Linked DNA regions of Homo sapiens: region 2 is linked to region 1. The links are contacts of gene promoters, found by promoter capture Hi-C in blood cells and fetal thymus (Javierre and others, 2016). All regions are on one chromosome and are shown on one strand. The core of a region is centred on a gene start or on the middle of the fragment in contact, and the rest is flanking DNA. Distances in the headings are between cores, read along the strand shown.

Region 1 (6,051 bases), core at 502-3,001:
GTGCTTTATCTCGAAAATACCTTCTCCCCCTGCCCCAGACAGTGGGCGGGGAGGGGGCAGCAAAAAATAGAAGACGTCCCTCCCTATTGCACATGGACCCTATATACAGGCCCACCTGGCTGAGGCTGGCGGGACTCTTGGCACATTCTTGGATCCCTGCTCAGGAGGGGAGGGGTGACGGGGTGGCATCACACGTGAGATGGGGACCTCCAGGCGGCCACTCTGGTCCTGGCTACTGATCCTTGCACTTCTTGGTCCTCAGTTCCTTCCTGGTCCCGTCTCTGGCCCTGGTCCCCTCTGGCAACGTCCCCCTGCTTGGCTCGGCCTCCCACCTCCATCCTGGCCTCGGGTGGCCCCCTCGGCTCCTGGGGACTCTGCTCCCCTCCCAGTCCGGAGGTCCCAGGGGGGCTATGGCTTCTCTGAGACTTCCCCCGGAGCCCTGTCACTCGTGTTCACACGGGGGAAGGGGTGCGTGTGGCAGAAGCAGCTGTATAAATACGGGTGCGGGAAAGTCCCTCCGGGTCACTTGGAGAGTTTGCTGATGACGCGGATCAACGCTGCATTCTCATCCTTGAGGCGCTGGTTGTCAGCGCGGAGGTCAGACAGGGCCTGGGGGACGGCAAGGGTCAGCTGGGCAGCCCTGGCGGGTTGCACCCCCACCCACCCTCGGCCCTCTGCCCACAGCCCCCACAGCCCCCACCTTCAGCTCCTCCTCCAGCTCTGCGGCCTTGCGTTCCAGGGCCCTGCGCTCCTGGAATGAACAGGGAAAGTGCAGAAACTGAGTGAGGCTGAGGAGGGCAGGGGAAGGCCAGGGGCCAGCTGGGAAGGGCAATGTGGCTCCCTTGGTCCAAACTTAGGGATGTGAGGCTGGGGACGCCTCTGGCCCCCATCCCCACTGCCCCTACTCACGAATCTCTCCAGTTCCAGGAGGGCTGGCCTCTCAGCGAAGCGTTCTTGCCTCTGGTGAGGACACAGAAAGCACAGGGGTCAGCAGAAGAAGCCAGCACTGCTCTGAAGGGTCCTAGGCTCCTGCTGGGCACCCGCCCGCCCACTAGGCAGCCCACAAGCCCTTCCCCCACGGGCCAGGCCCCGCCACCGGCAGGCCCACAGCCCCATCCCCTCGCTCAGACTCCGCCTCCGAGATCTCGGCCCCGCCCCTCAAGTGAAGCCCAGCCCCGCCGGCACCCCCAGGCCAGGCTCTACCTCCCAGCAGTCTAAGCCCCACCCAGGCGGCCCTGCCAGTTCCCGTGACCCTGGCCTCGGCGCCCTTACCTGCGTGGCCCGCTCCAGCTCCACCTTGAGCTGCGCCAGCCGCAGCGTGGTCTCGGTCAGGGCCTCGCGAAGCCGCTCGTTCTCCCTGCGCAGCTCTGCATACAGCTGGGGGTCAGGTAGAGGAGGGTCAGGTGGAGGATGGGGCGATGCTGGGGGGGCGGGGAAGCCAGGAAGCTGGGCACCCAGCAGGCAAAGCCCCGACGGAGGGGTGGGATCGCACCGTCCTAAAGCCTCCGTCTGGCTCTTCCGATTCTGGCTCAGGTTCTGGGTTGAGGTCCCGCTGCCACCGCTGCCTGCGGGCCGAGGGGCCGCCCTCCAGGGTGCTGGGGCAGGGGAGGAGCGCGCGTCAGGGGCCGGCCCGGCCCGCACGCAGACCCCACCTCTCCCACCCCGCCCCTACCTGGACTCCTGGCTGCGGTCAGCCGGCTCCGCCTCCTCCCCCTGTGGGCAGGTAGACGGGGGTTCAATGGGTATGGGAGGGACTTTAGCGGGTATGGGAAGGGCTTTGCCCGCCCCCCGGCCCACCCTCTGCACCAGCTCGGCCCCACCTGAGCCCCTCACCTCCGCAGGCCCCCTCCACTCCTTTCCGACCTTGCGGTGCTCCCTGGCCGCCTGCGGTCCCGGACCCTGCCCGTCGGGCGCCTCTGCTGGGGGAGGGGCAGGAATCAGCCCAGGCACCTCCAGAGCCCCCTCTCGGTGCCTGGGTCCCCGGGTCAAGCCCCCAGGAAAGCAAGAAGACTATGGGAGAAACTGGATGATTCCCTGGGAATGACCTCCCCGAGAGCAGACCTCACCTCTCTGGGCAGGGCTGTCAGAGTTCTCCACTCCAGGGACGCGGGGCCTTCGGGAAGGGTCCTGTCGGGAGGGGGAGGCGAGTCAGGGAAGCAGGACATCCCGCACCACCCCACTCGCCCTCGCTGACCCCTCTCACCAGGCTCTGCGCCGGCTTCTCTGACTCTGGGGCCTTCCCTGCAGCCTTCTCTGCCTCCTTCAGGTCTGTAAGAGTCACACCCTGGCAGGGAAAGGGGACAGTCAGGGGACGCTGGGGTCAGGGCCCAGCCCCTCCTCCCTCAGACCCAGGAGCCCAGGCCCCAGCCCCTCCTCCCTCAGACCCAGGAGCCCAGACCCCAGCCCCTCCTCCCTCAGACCCAGGAGTCCAGACCTCCAGCCCCTCCTCCCTCAGACCCAGGAGTCCAGGCCCCAGCCCCTCCTCCCTCAGACCCAGGAGTCCAGACCTCCAGCCCCTCCTCCCTCAGACCCAGGAGTCCAGGCCCCAGCCCCTCCTCCCTCAGACCCAGGAGTCCAGACCTCCAGCCCCTCCTCCCTCAGACCCAGGAGCCCAGGCCCCAGCCCCTCCTCCCTCAGACCCAGGAGTCCAGACCTCCAGCCCCTCCTCCCTCAGACCCAGGAGCCCAGACCCCAGCCCCTCCTCCCTCAGACCCAGGAGCCCAGGCCCCAGCCCCTCCTCCCTCAGACCCAGGAGCCCAGACCCCAGCCCCTCCTCCCTCAGACCCAGGAGCCCAGGCCCCAGCCCCTCCTCCCTCAGACCCAGGAGCCCAGACCCCAGCCCCTCCTCCCTCAGACCCAGGAGTCCAGGCCCCAGCCCCTCCTCCCTCAGACCCAGGAGTCCAGACCTCCAGCCCCTCCTCCCTCAGACCCAGGAGCCCAGACCCCAGCCCCTCCTCCCTCAGACCCAGGAGTCCAGGCCCCAGCCCCTCCTCCCTCAGACCCAGGAGCCCAGGCCCCAGCCCCTCCTCCCTCAGACCCAGGAGTCCAGGCCCCAGCCCCTCCTCCCTCAGACCCAGGAGTCCAGACCTCCAGCCCCTCCTCCCTCAGACCCAGGAGTCCAGGCCCCAGCCCCTCCTCCCTCAGACCCAGGAGCCCAGGCCCCAGCCCCTCCTCCCTCAGACCCAGGAGTCCAGGCCCCAGCCCCTCCTCCCTCAGACCCAGGAGTCCAGACCTCCAGCCCCTCCTCCCTCAGACCCAGGAGTCCAGGCCCCAGCCCCTCCTCCCTCAGACCCAGGAATCCAGGCCCCCAGCCCCTCCTCCCTCAGACCCAGGAGTCCAGGCCCCAGCCCCTCCTCCCTCAGACCCAGGAGTCCAGACCCCAGCCCACCCCACACCTGTGTGGACCTCCGAGACTGGCGCATGAGACGGGAGCGAGCTTTTCTCTGGGATTCCGACTCCTCATCCCGCACAGGCATCTGGTAGGACCTGAGGGAAGGGTCCCAACCTCAGACAGGGAACCTGGGGACCCTGTCCCATTCCGTGGCTGACACCCTCCGCGGGAAGCAAGTTCTGTGGGAGGGGACTCCAACTCCCAGCAGACCTGAGGCCAGCTCTCCCTCAGGAGCCCACCCAAAGCCCCGGGACTCCTGCTTCACATCGTCTCTCCCTGCTGGGGGCGGGGGCGGCAGCTTCCTGCCCTGGCCTCTTCACCTCCGTCGGTCCCGGGAGTCCGCTGGGGGCGCCGTGGAGGCTGTGGGGACGTTTGGCTTCGCTGGGGATTCAGGCTCCGGAATCCTGGAGGGAGGCGAGGAGTTCTCCAAGCAAGGAGGAGGCTTGGTGACCTCAGACCTGCATCAATTCATTCATTCCACAAACATTACCCAGGTGCATTGTGTGCCGGCACTGGAGATGCAGCCGTGAGTGAAAGAAACAAATTATCTGGGCCACAACAGAGTCAGAGCTGAGCAGAAATACACAAAACCCACAAAAGCCATGAAAAGACCAGCACACTACGCAACCGGTCAGAAGGATAAAGGACTCTGGACAGAAGCAGCAGTGCGAGAACTGAGAGCGGGAGGGTGTGCGTGTGCGGACGGCGCCGTGGTGGCAGCAGGGTGGTCAGTGTGCACCTCGGGGTGGGGGGAAGATAGGGGAGAAGGTGACGTTTCAACACAGACCTGAGGGAGGGAGAGAGCCCCCAAGAGGAACACAGCACAGGCTCTGGAGTGGCGGCAGGAACCAGACCCCAGGGGGTACATGGTCTCACTCAGGATCACACGGACAGGCTTGGAACCCACATCTGCCACCCACCCCTGAGGGGCCCAGGCCCTGGGGACTCACAGGACAGAGGGCTCCGGCAGCTTCGGGGAGGGGGTCGGGGTAATTCTGGCAAGACGGAGCTCCTTGGCCTGTGTGGAGAGGAGAAGGGGAGGAAGGGGCAGTTCCCTCGACTGGGCAGGGGCCTGGGCCTGGACCCGGCCCAACCCTCACTCACCTGAGTGGAGGTCCCTTCCAGCCAGGAGGAGGAAGCCGAGCGCTGCAGCCCAGCCCCAGGGGCTCCCTCCGCTGTCCGCCTTTCAGGGGGACCCAGGGCACCAGAACTCCCTGTCTTCAGGAGGCCAAAGCGCCTGGAGAAGGGGGCCTCTTCAAGCTGCTGGGAGAAGGAGGAGGTCTCAGTTAGAGAGAAAGGATCCCTCTTCTCAGACCTCAAGGGTTAGCCCCCAAAGGACTGCAACAAACTACAATTCCCATCAGCCCCCGGGGCAGGCACAGCCTAAAAAGGAAGCCGGTTGTCCAGGACGACTCTGGGAACTATAGTCTTCCCCCTATCTGCCCCTGCCAGAGGTTCACAGGCTGTATGGAATCCCACCTCCGGGCCCTCCCAGCCTCACAGGACCTCTCAGGGCATCCACTCACCACGGGACTCTTAGGGCTGGGGTGCGGCGGGGAGGAGACGCCATTGAGGGTTCTGGGTTCTGCAGGGGGTGGTTCTGTGATGTGGGAACACCGGGCAGGTCACAGAAGATGCCAGTTGCCTCTAGATTCAGAGAACCCGACCCCTCCTCCCTCGGACCCAGGAGTCCAGATTCAGGCCCCTCACCGGTGGGACCTTCTTCCCCCTCATCCTCGTCCTGGATGGGGGGCCCCCCAGCCCCACCAGGCCGGCGCTCCTTGGACAAGTCCTGGAGGGAAATCTTCTCGCGACTGCTCAGACGACACACAGAGCTCCTGTTGGGGAAGGAGAGGGTGCTGGGGTACAAGCCCGGGGCCTCCAGCCACCCCGCCAGCCCTGGACTCCTCCCTCCCTATACCTTCTGTGTTTGCTGCTAGAGGGCGCTTGGGGCTCCTGGCCCCGGCTCTGGGAAGCTTCTTTTTGGTTCCGAAGCTGCAAGGAGGGAAGGGGGCTGCAGGGGAGGGGTGGAGCACACGTGCCCCACAGCAACACCACCACAAACAGCTGTGCAGGAGCTCACTGCCCAGGCGGGCACCGAGGGCTCGTGGGCTTACTGGTTTTCCTACAGATGGCCACACACCTCAGGGGCAGGAGGTGCCCTGCGTCCAGCAGGCGCCCGCAGCTGCCACGTGCAGGCACTGCCGTCTTGTCCTCACGGCCCCCACCCATGAGAAGCCTCCAGTCTCATCCCCAGAGGGGTCCTTCTAGCTCCCAGGGGAGACCTGCTTAGACCTCACCCCGACCCCTCAGCATACCCAGGGCACTGGTGGGCCCTCAGCTGCCCCGGCTCCTGCAGCCGGCACTCGCCTCCTCCTTCCCCGCGCAGTTCACCACCGTCTTCACACCTTCCCCGCAGTTCACCACCGTCTTCGCCCCTTCCCCGCGCAGTTCACCACCGTCTTCACCCCTTCCCCGCGCAGTTCACCACCGTCTTCGCCCCTTCCCCGCGCAGTTCACCACCGTCTTCGCCCCTTCCCCGCAGTTCACCACCGTCTTCGCCCCTTCCCCGCAGTTCACCACCGTCTTCGCCCCTTCCCTGCAGTTCACCACTGTCTTCGCCCCTTCCCCGCGCAGTTCACCACCGTCTTCGCCCCTTC
Region 2 (6,266 bases), core at 3,767-6,266, 290 kb after region 1:
GGGAGGGGGTACAGGGAGCGTCCGTCTGGCCACGGATGTAGGGGCAGCTGCACATCTCAGTCTGGTCCTGACAGCTGGAGCCAAGGGGTTGTCTGCAGGAGGGAGGGTGGAGTGAGCGACTGCTCAGGAACCCCTCCCATCCCTGTTCCGGGCTCTCTGCCTGCGGGGGCAGAGGCAGGGAGCCCCATCCGCCTGCCCTTGCCGCTCACATGGACTCACACACTTGCTCCTTCATCCCTGCATGCCCCCATTTGCTGAGTGTGTGCATGCGTGTGTACCTTTAACGCCCTGAAATCCAAGGGTAGAGGCCAGGGAATGCGAGCCAGGGAGAGGCAGAAAGGGGGAGACGAAGACATGCAGAAGGGGAAAGGCAGAAGCACAGGGACAAAGAAAGAGACCTGGGAGACAGAGACACAGAGACAAAGAGTGAGAGAGAGGGAGACAGGCAGACACAGTGAAGACAGAAGGAGGCCGGGCATCGTGGTCCTCATCTCAGACCCTCACCCCAGCATTTTGGCTGCAGGCAGGAGGATCACTTGAGCCCAGGAGTTTGACACCAGCCTGGGTAACATAGGAAGACCCCGTCTCTGGTACCTGTAGTCCCAGTTCCTTGGGAGGCTGAGGTGGGAGGATTGCTTGAGCCCAGGAGGTGGAGGCTGCAGTGAGCTGTGATTGCACCACTGCTCTCCAGCCTGAACAACAGAGTGATGGGGGTGGCTCTGCCCGGCTACTCATGGTGGTCTCGGAGGTTGTGGGGGTACCAGAGCCAGAACCTGTGGGTCCCTCTGCTAAAATTCAGGTTCTCTGTCTTTCATGCGCTGGAAGCTGCTCACTCTCCCCAGTAAACAAGAGTCCTGGGTTTGAACAGGCCCATTTTCCTCTAAGTGGGGCCTACGTTCGAGTCAGTGTGGTCTGAGTCTTTGGTGGAGGCTCCAAGAGTGGAGGCCTGTGCAGCTGTGTTAGACGTTTAAGCTACGTAAAGGATTCTCCTCTCCTCCCCTCCCCTCCCCTCCCCCCTTCCCCCCTCCCCTCCCCCCTTGCCCGTCCCCTCCCCCTTCCCCCTTCCCCCTCCCCTCCCTTCCCCCCTTCCCTCCCTGCTTCCCCCTCCCCTCCCCCTTCCCCCCTCCTCCCCTCCCCTCCCCTCCTCTCCTCTCCTTTTCTTTTTTTGAGATGGAGTCTTGCTCTGTTGCCCAAGCTGGAGTGCAGTGGCACGATCTTGGTTCACTGCAACCTCCGCCTCCCAGATTCAAGTGATTCTCCTGCCTCAGCCTCCCTAGTAGCTGGGATTACAGGCGTCCGCCACCATGCCTGGCTAATTTTTGTATTTTTAGTAGAGACAGGGTTTCACCATGGTTGCCAGGTTGGTCTCGAACTCCTGACCTCAGGTGATCCACCCGCCTCGGCCTCCCAAAGTGCTGGGATTACAGGCATGAGCCACCATGCCCAACCTCATAAAGGATGTTCTTTTCTTTCTTTTTTTGAGACGGGTTCTCACTCTGTCACTCAGGCTGGAGTGCAGTGGCGTGATCTTGGCTCACTGCAGCCTTTGCCTCCCAGGTTCAAGCAAGCAATTCTCCCACCTCGGCCTCCCAAAGTGCTGGGATTACAGGCATGAGCCACTGTGCTCAGCCAGGATTTCCAAAGGTAACAGTAACTACAGGTGCTTATGTTTGCATTCTATGCCAAGCTTCATGTTAGCTTACGCTTCACCCGTGCAAGCAGATGTTCATGCTTTCTTACCCCAGTTCCTTCACTGAATCACGGCACGTAGCATATGATTGGGGTGACTATTTCCCCAAATCTCACAAAGAATAATATATAACTGGTAGCATTCTGGATGCATAGGAGAAAAGTTAATTCCAGCCGGGCACGGTGGTTCACGCCTGTAATCCCAGCACTTTGGGTGGCCGAGGTGGGCGGATCACCCGAGATCGGGAGTTTGAGACCAGCCTGACCAACATGGAGAAACCCCGTCTCTACTAAAAATACAAAATTAGCCAGGTGTGGGGGTGCATGCCTGTAATCCCAGCTACTCGGGAAGCTGAGGCAAGAGAATTGCTTGAACGCGGGAGGCAGAGGTTGCAGTGAGCCGAGATTGCGCCACTGCACTCCAGCCTGGACAACAAGAGTGTAACTCCATCTCAAAAAAAAAAAAAAAAAAAAAAAAAGTTAATTATTTACCTACATAGAACGTCCTAGGATAATAGGGTTTAATTCTTTTACCAAAACCCTATTTGAGAGATGAATTCAGTCACCCAACCATCCATGTGCCATTAAATGCATTCATCCACTCATCTGTGTACTTATCATTCAGCCCCAACCATCTATTCAACTACCCATTCACCCATCTACCTATCTATCCAGAGAGCGCACAGAGGCTGGGCAAACTCTGACTGTCCTATGGATAGTCCTATGGACCAGCCGAGGCCCCTGCCCCAAGGAGTTCCCAGGTGTAACCGCAAGTTAAGGTGCCCTGGGGAGGTGACACAGGCACCCTCATTTCTTTTGTTCAGTAGGAGTCTCTGAGGCCTCCCCAGTACCATGCTGCATGGGTGAGGCCGAGGACACAGAGAAGTATCAGGAAAAGCTCTTGCCCCTTTATCAGGCAGGGCTCCCTCTCCAACCATATCCATTCATGGTTCATTGCCCAATTCACCACCTACCCATATCTACCCATTAAACAACCCATCCATCCGTCAATCCAACCACATCCCTGCATCAACCAACCCATGTATTCACCCATCCACCCACCCACCCATCTGTCCATTCACCCGTCCATCCACCCATCCATCTACCCATCCACCTATCCAACCACCCACCCATCTATGCATTCACCCATCCATCCATCAAACAACTCATCCATCCACGCACCCATCGATCTACCCATCCACCCACCCACCCATCTATCAATCTATCATCCATTCACCCATGCATCCATCAACCAACTCATCCATCCATCCACCCATCCATCTACCCATCCACCCATCCAGCCATCCGTTCTTCCATCCATCCTTCCACTTCCCTACCCAACCATCAACCTTTCCTGATTTCACACTTTTTGCTGGGCAATGCTAGGAACAAGGACGCTAGGGACCTAGGTCTTACCCTCAAGGCACTCCCTGTCAGGTGGGAGAGACAGTAACAACATAGACACAGCACATGGCCATATAAGCAGCAAGAGGGGTCGCTCAGACAATATGAAGACCCAGAGAAGACCCAGAGAAATTAAGTTAAATCTTAAACATGTGAGAAGTTTTCTGGGTGGAGTGGAGACAGCCAAGGGCACTCCTGGTGTAGAGAAGAGCAGGAACAGGGACCAACTGGCTATCTGTGGACTAAGAGACACCATTAGTGCAGAGAGGCAGGAGAAATGGGGCCAAAATATGGGGGGTCCACAGGCCAGTGAGTGCTTCAGTTTAACCAAAGGTGAAGAGGGAGCCACAGCAGGTCTTTGAGCAGAGGCAGGCTAGCTGGAAAGGTGTGTTTAGGAAAGAGATAGAAGGTAGAGGGGAAAGGGGAGTGAATGTGTGGTGGCTTCATTTCTCCTGCTGTTGGTCCTTCTTACTCCTCCTTTTCTAGGCCTACAGGTCAGGAAAATCCCAGCTCCTCCTTTCCTAGGCCTACAGGTCAGGAGAATCCCAGCTCCTCTTTTCCTAGGCCTACAGGTCAGGAGAATCCCAGCTCCTCCACCTACGTGTTGTGTGGCCTTGGGCAAATGTGGCGCCTTTCTGCGCTTCAGTTTCCTCCACTGCAGAATGGGGATGGTAATAGTAGTGACCTTGGAGACCAGTTACATGGAGAGGATTAAATGGGGCCTGGTCTGGGCTCAGTGGCTCACGCCTGTAATCCCAGCACTTTGGGAGGCTGAGGAGAGCAAATCGCATGAGCTCAGGAGGTGGGGACCAACCTGGCCCACATGGCAAAACCCCGTCTCTACTAAATATACAAAAATTAGCCCGGCAAGGTGGGGCGCACATGTATTCTCAGCTACTTGGGAGGCTCAGGTGGGAGGACTGCTTGAGCCTAGGAGGTCGAGGCTGCTGTGAGCTGAGATCACGCCACTGCACTCCAGCCTGGGTGACAGTGAGAGATCCTGTCTCAAAACAACCCCAAACGACAACAAAACAAAACAAAACAAAAAATGGGGCCTGGTGTACCTGGAAGCTGGGGCTCTCCCCGTGCGGGGGGCCTAACTGTGTGACTCGACCCCCACACTTCCCATCTCCAGGGGCAGGGTCTCACAGCCTCCCCCACGTATGCACCTGTGCTTGCTGTGTCTGCGGTTCTCCGCCAGAGCCTTCCCGTCCCTGTCTCCACCCCGCCCTGGGACTCTACCTCCCCATGGCCGCTCTCTGTCTCCATCTGTCCATCGCTCCCCCGTCTGTCTCCATTCCCGTCCCTCCCTCGGTCCCTCCGTCTCCCCGCCCTGCCCCGCCCGCCCCTCACCTGGGCCTCACTCGCTGCCCGCGCCCGCCGCCCCGGGCCCGGCCTCGAGCGTGGCGAGCTGCAGGCGCACGCGGCGGGAGCCGGCGGCGGGCGGCGGGGGCGCGCGGGCGGCTCGGCGCGCTCTCCGGGAGCCGGGCGCGGGGCGCTGGCCCGCGGCGGCGGGCGCCGACCAGCGGCGGGAGAGCTTGCGCGCCAGGCGGGCGAGCGCCGAGGGCCGCAGGCCGTAGTCGCGCTCCAGCTCCTGGCGCGAGATCTCGATGTTGCCGGTGTACCAGAGGATCCAGCCCAGCAGGCTCAGGAACACCAGCAGCGCGCCCGAGTAGATGAGCAGGTCCCCGAAGTCGCGGCCGCGCACCTGCAGCTGCGCGAACACGCCGGTCAGCAGCGCCGCCATGCCCGCCACATCCAGCGCCACGGCCAGCAGCAGCGCCATCCGGCAGCGGCCCAGGCCGGCCGCGGGTGCTGGCGCGGCCGCCGGCGCGGACGGTGCACCCGGCGGGCTCCCCTGCGAGGCGCACACCGCTGGCGCCGCCGCCATGGCCCTGCACCGCCGCCGCTGGCGCCCAGAGAGAGCGTTCCGGGGTGCGGCCCGGTCCGGGGCGGGGTCAGGGGACGGCGCCAGGTGTGCCAAGCTCCCGCCTGGTCACCTGAACCGGGCTGGGCGCGAACCGGCGCGGCCGGGGTTACCCTGGTCGTGGTTTCCGTGCAGGGGCTATTGCTCAGAGGCCTGAGCTGGTGGTAGCCAGGCGCACAGCCACGGGTGCCTAGGGCCCGTGCCACCCAGGGAGGTCACATATGGCCAAAAATCAGGGCATTTTAGTGGTGGCAGCATGGGACACTCGGAGCCGGGCGTGGCGTTGTTTCTGCTCAGTGTCCGCCTCCCGAAGCCTGTGCAGATCAGACAGTGCAGATCAGACAAGGCCTTTAGACACCAAGGAGCTCTGGGACGCGAGAACCAGTAGTCGGGGTGATCTAAGAGGGGAAGCTCCGGGTTCCGCGGAAGCTGAGTTTCCTTCACTCAGCGCGTGTCTTCTGGGGTCTCCTGTGTTCAGCGAATGAAGCCACGGGCACAAGGACGGACGAGACCCATCAGGTCCAGAGCGCACCCGTGGAGGAAGCTGGGCGAACCCCGACTGTCCTATGGAGGATAGTCCTATGGACCAGACGAAGCCCCTGCCCCAAGGAGTGCCCGGGTGTAACCGCAAGTTAAGGAGCCCTGGGGAGGTGACACAGGCACCCTCATTCCTTTTGTTCAGTAGGAGTCTCTGAGGCCTCCCCAGCACCATGCCGCGTGGGTGAGGCCGAGGACACAGAGAAATATCAGGCAAGGCTCCTGCCCCCTTAGGGTGGCCCTGACAACGGATCATAACCTCCCAGGGAGCTGATGGGGTGTGACAGGCACACCATAGGCTGGAGGCACAGGTGGAGGGCAGGGAAGAGGACCGGCAAATCTATAGAATCCTAAAGGGAGCCAAGAGAAGCCACATGCAAATCTCCCTCCCTCCAAACAATTCTCCCTTAGAGGGCATCCGCGCTCCCCTGGGGTGGCAGTCAGCGAGAAGTTTCCGTGTAGGTTCTCCCCAGGCTTAAACAGTTTAAGAGTTTTATTTCAAGAAAACCCTGGGGAGGGCGAACTGCAAGAGGGCTGCCAGGATTAGCCGAGGGATTCCGAATGAAGACGGAGTATTTCCGAACATACACACCTCTCCCAAGAGCGTTTCCGGAGGGTTCCGAAAATACCCGAGCGGGCCTCGGCGCCCTCATTGGCCATCACCGCGAGGGCTTACGAAGACCGGAAATATCCAAAGGTGCCGGGGCTA

The links. The method cuts DNA at HindIII sites, captures the fragments that hold promoters and counts their contacts. A CHiCAGO score of 5 or more calls a contact.
Region 2: the fragment with the promoter of TMEM238 here is called in contact with a fragment that was not itself captured in region 1 in 6 of 17 cell types (naive CD4 T cells, non-activated CD4 T cells, total CD8 T cells and 3 more); the score reaches 6.9 in naive CD4 T cells.

Annotation. Positions count from the first base shown.
Region 1 is chr19:55,090,950-55,097,000 of GRCh38, forward strand. It overlaps PPP1R12C (protein phosphatase 1 regulatory subunit 12C), which reads right to left. Exons shown (of 22, transcript NM_017607.4): 7 at 5,313-5,386; 8 at 5,102-5,229; 9 at 4,918-4,991; 10 at 4,496-4,654; 11 at 4,342-4,409; 12 at 3,712-3,849; 13 at 3,396-3,486; 14 at 2,204-2,284; 15 at 2,067-2,127; 16 at 1,834-1,919; 17 at 1,673-1,713; 18 at 1,493-1,595; 19 at 1,273-1,377; 20 at 910-960; 2 more. The coding sequence ends at 523. Among named protein-coding and RNA genes, the nearest start is that of EPS8L1, 18 kb to the left of the region's middle. The HindIII fragment of the contact is 7,228 bases long and covers 1-5,365 here.
Region 2 is chr19:55,379,276-55,385,541 of GRCh38, forward strand. TMEM238 (transmembrane protein 238) reads right to left here and starts at 5,017. Exons shown (of 2, transcript NM_001190764.2): 1 at 4,447-5,017; 2 at 1-92. The coding sequence starts at 4,984. The coding sequence ends at 4,454. RefSeq lists enhancers at 20-520, 4,617-5,579, 5,533-5,602, 5,633-5,702 and silencers at 4,523-4,612, 4,903-5,242. The HindIII fragment of the contact is 6,498 bases long and covers 1,686-6,266 here.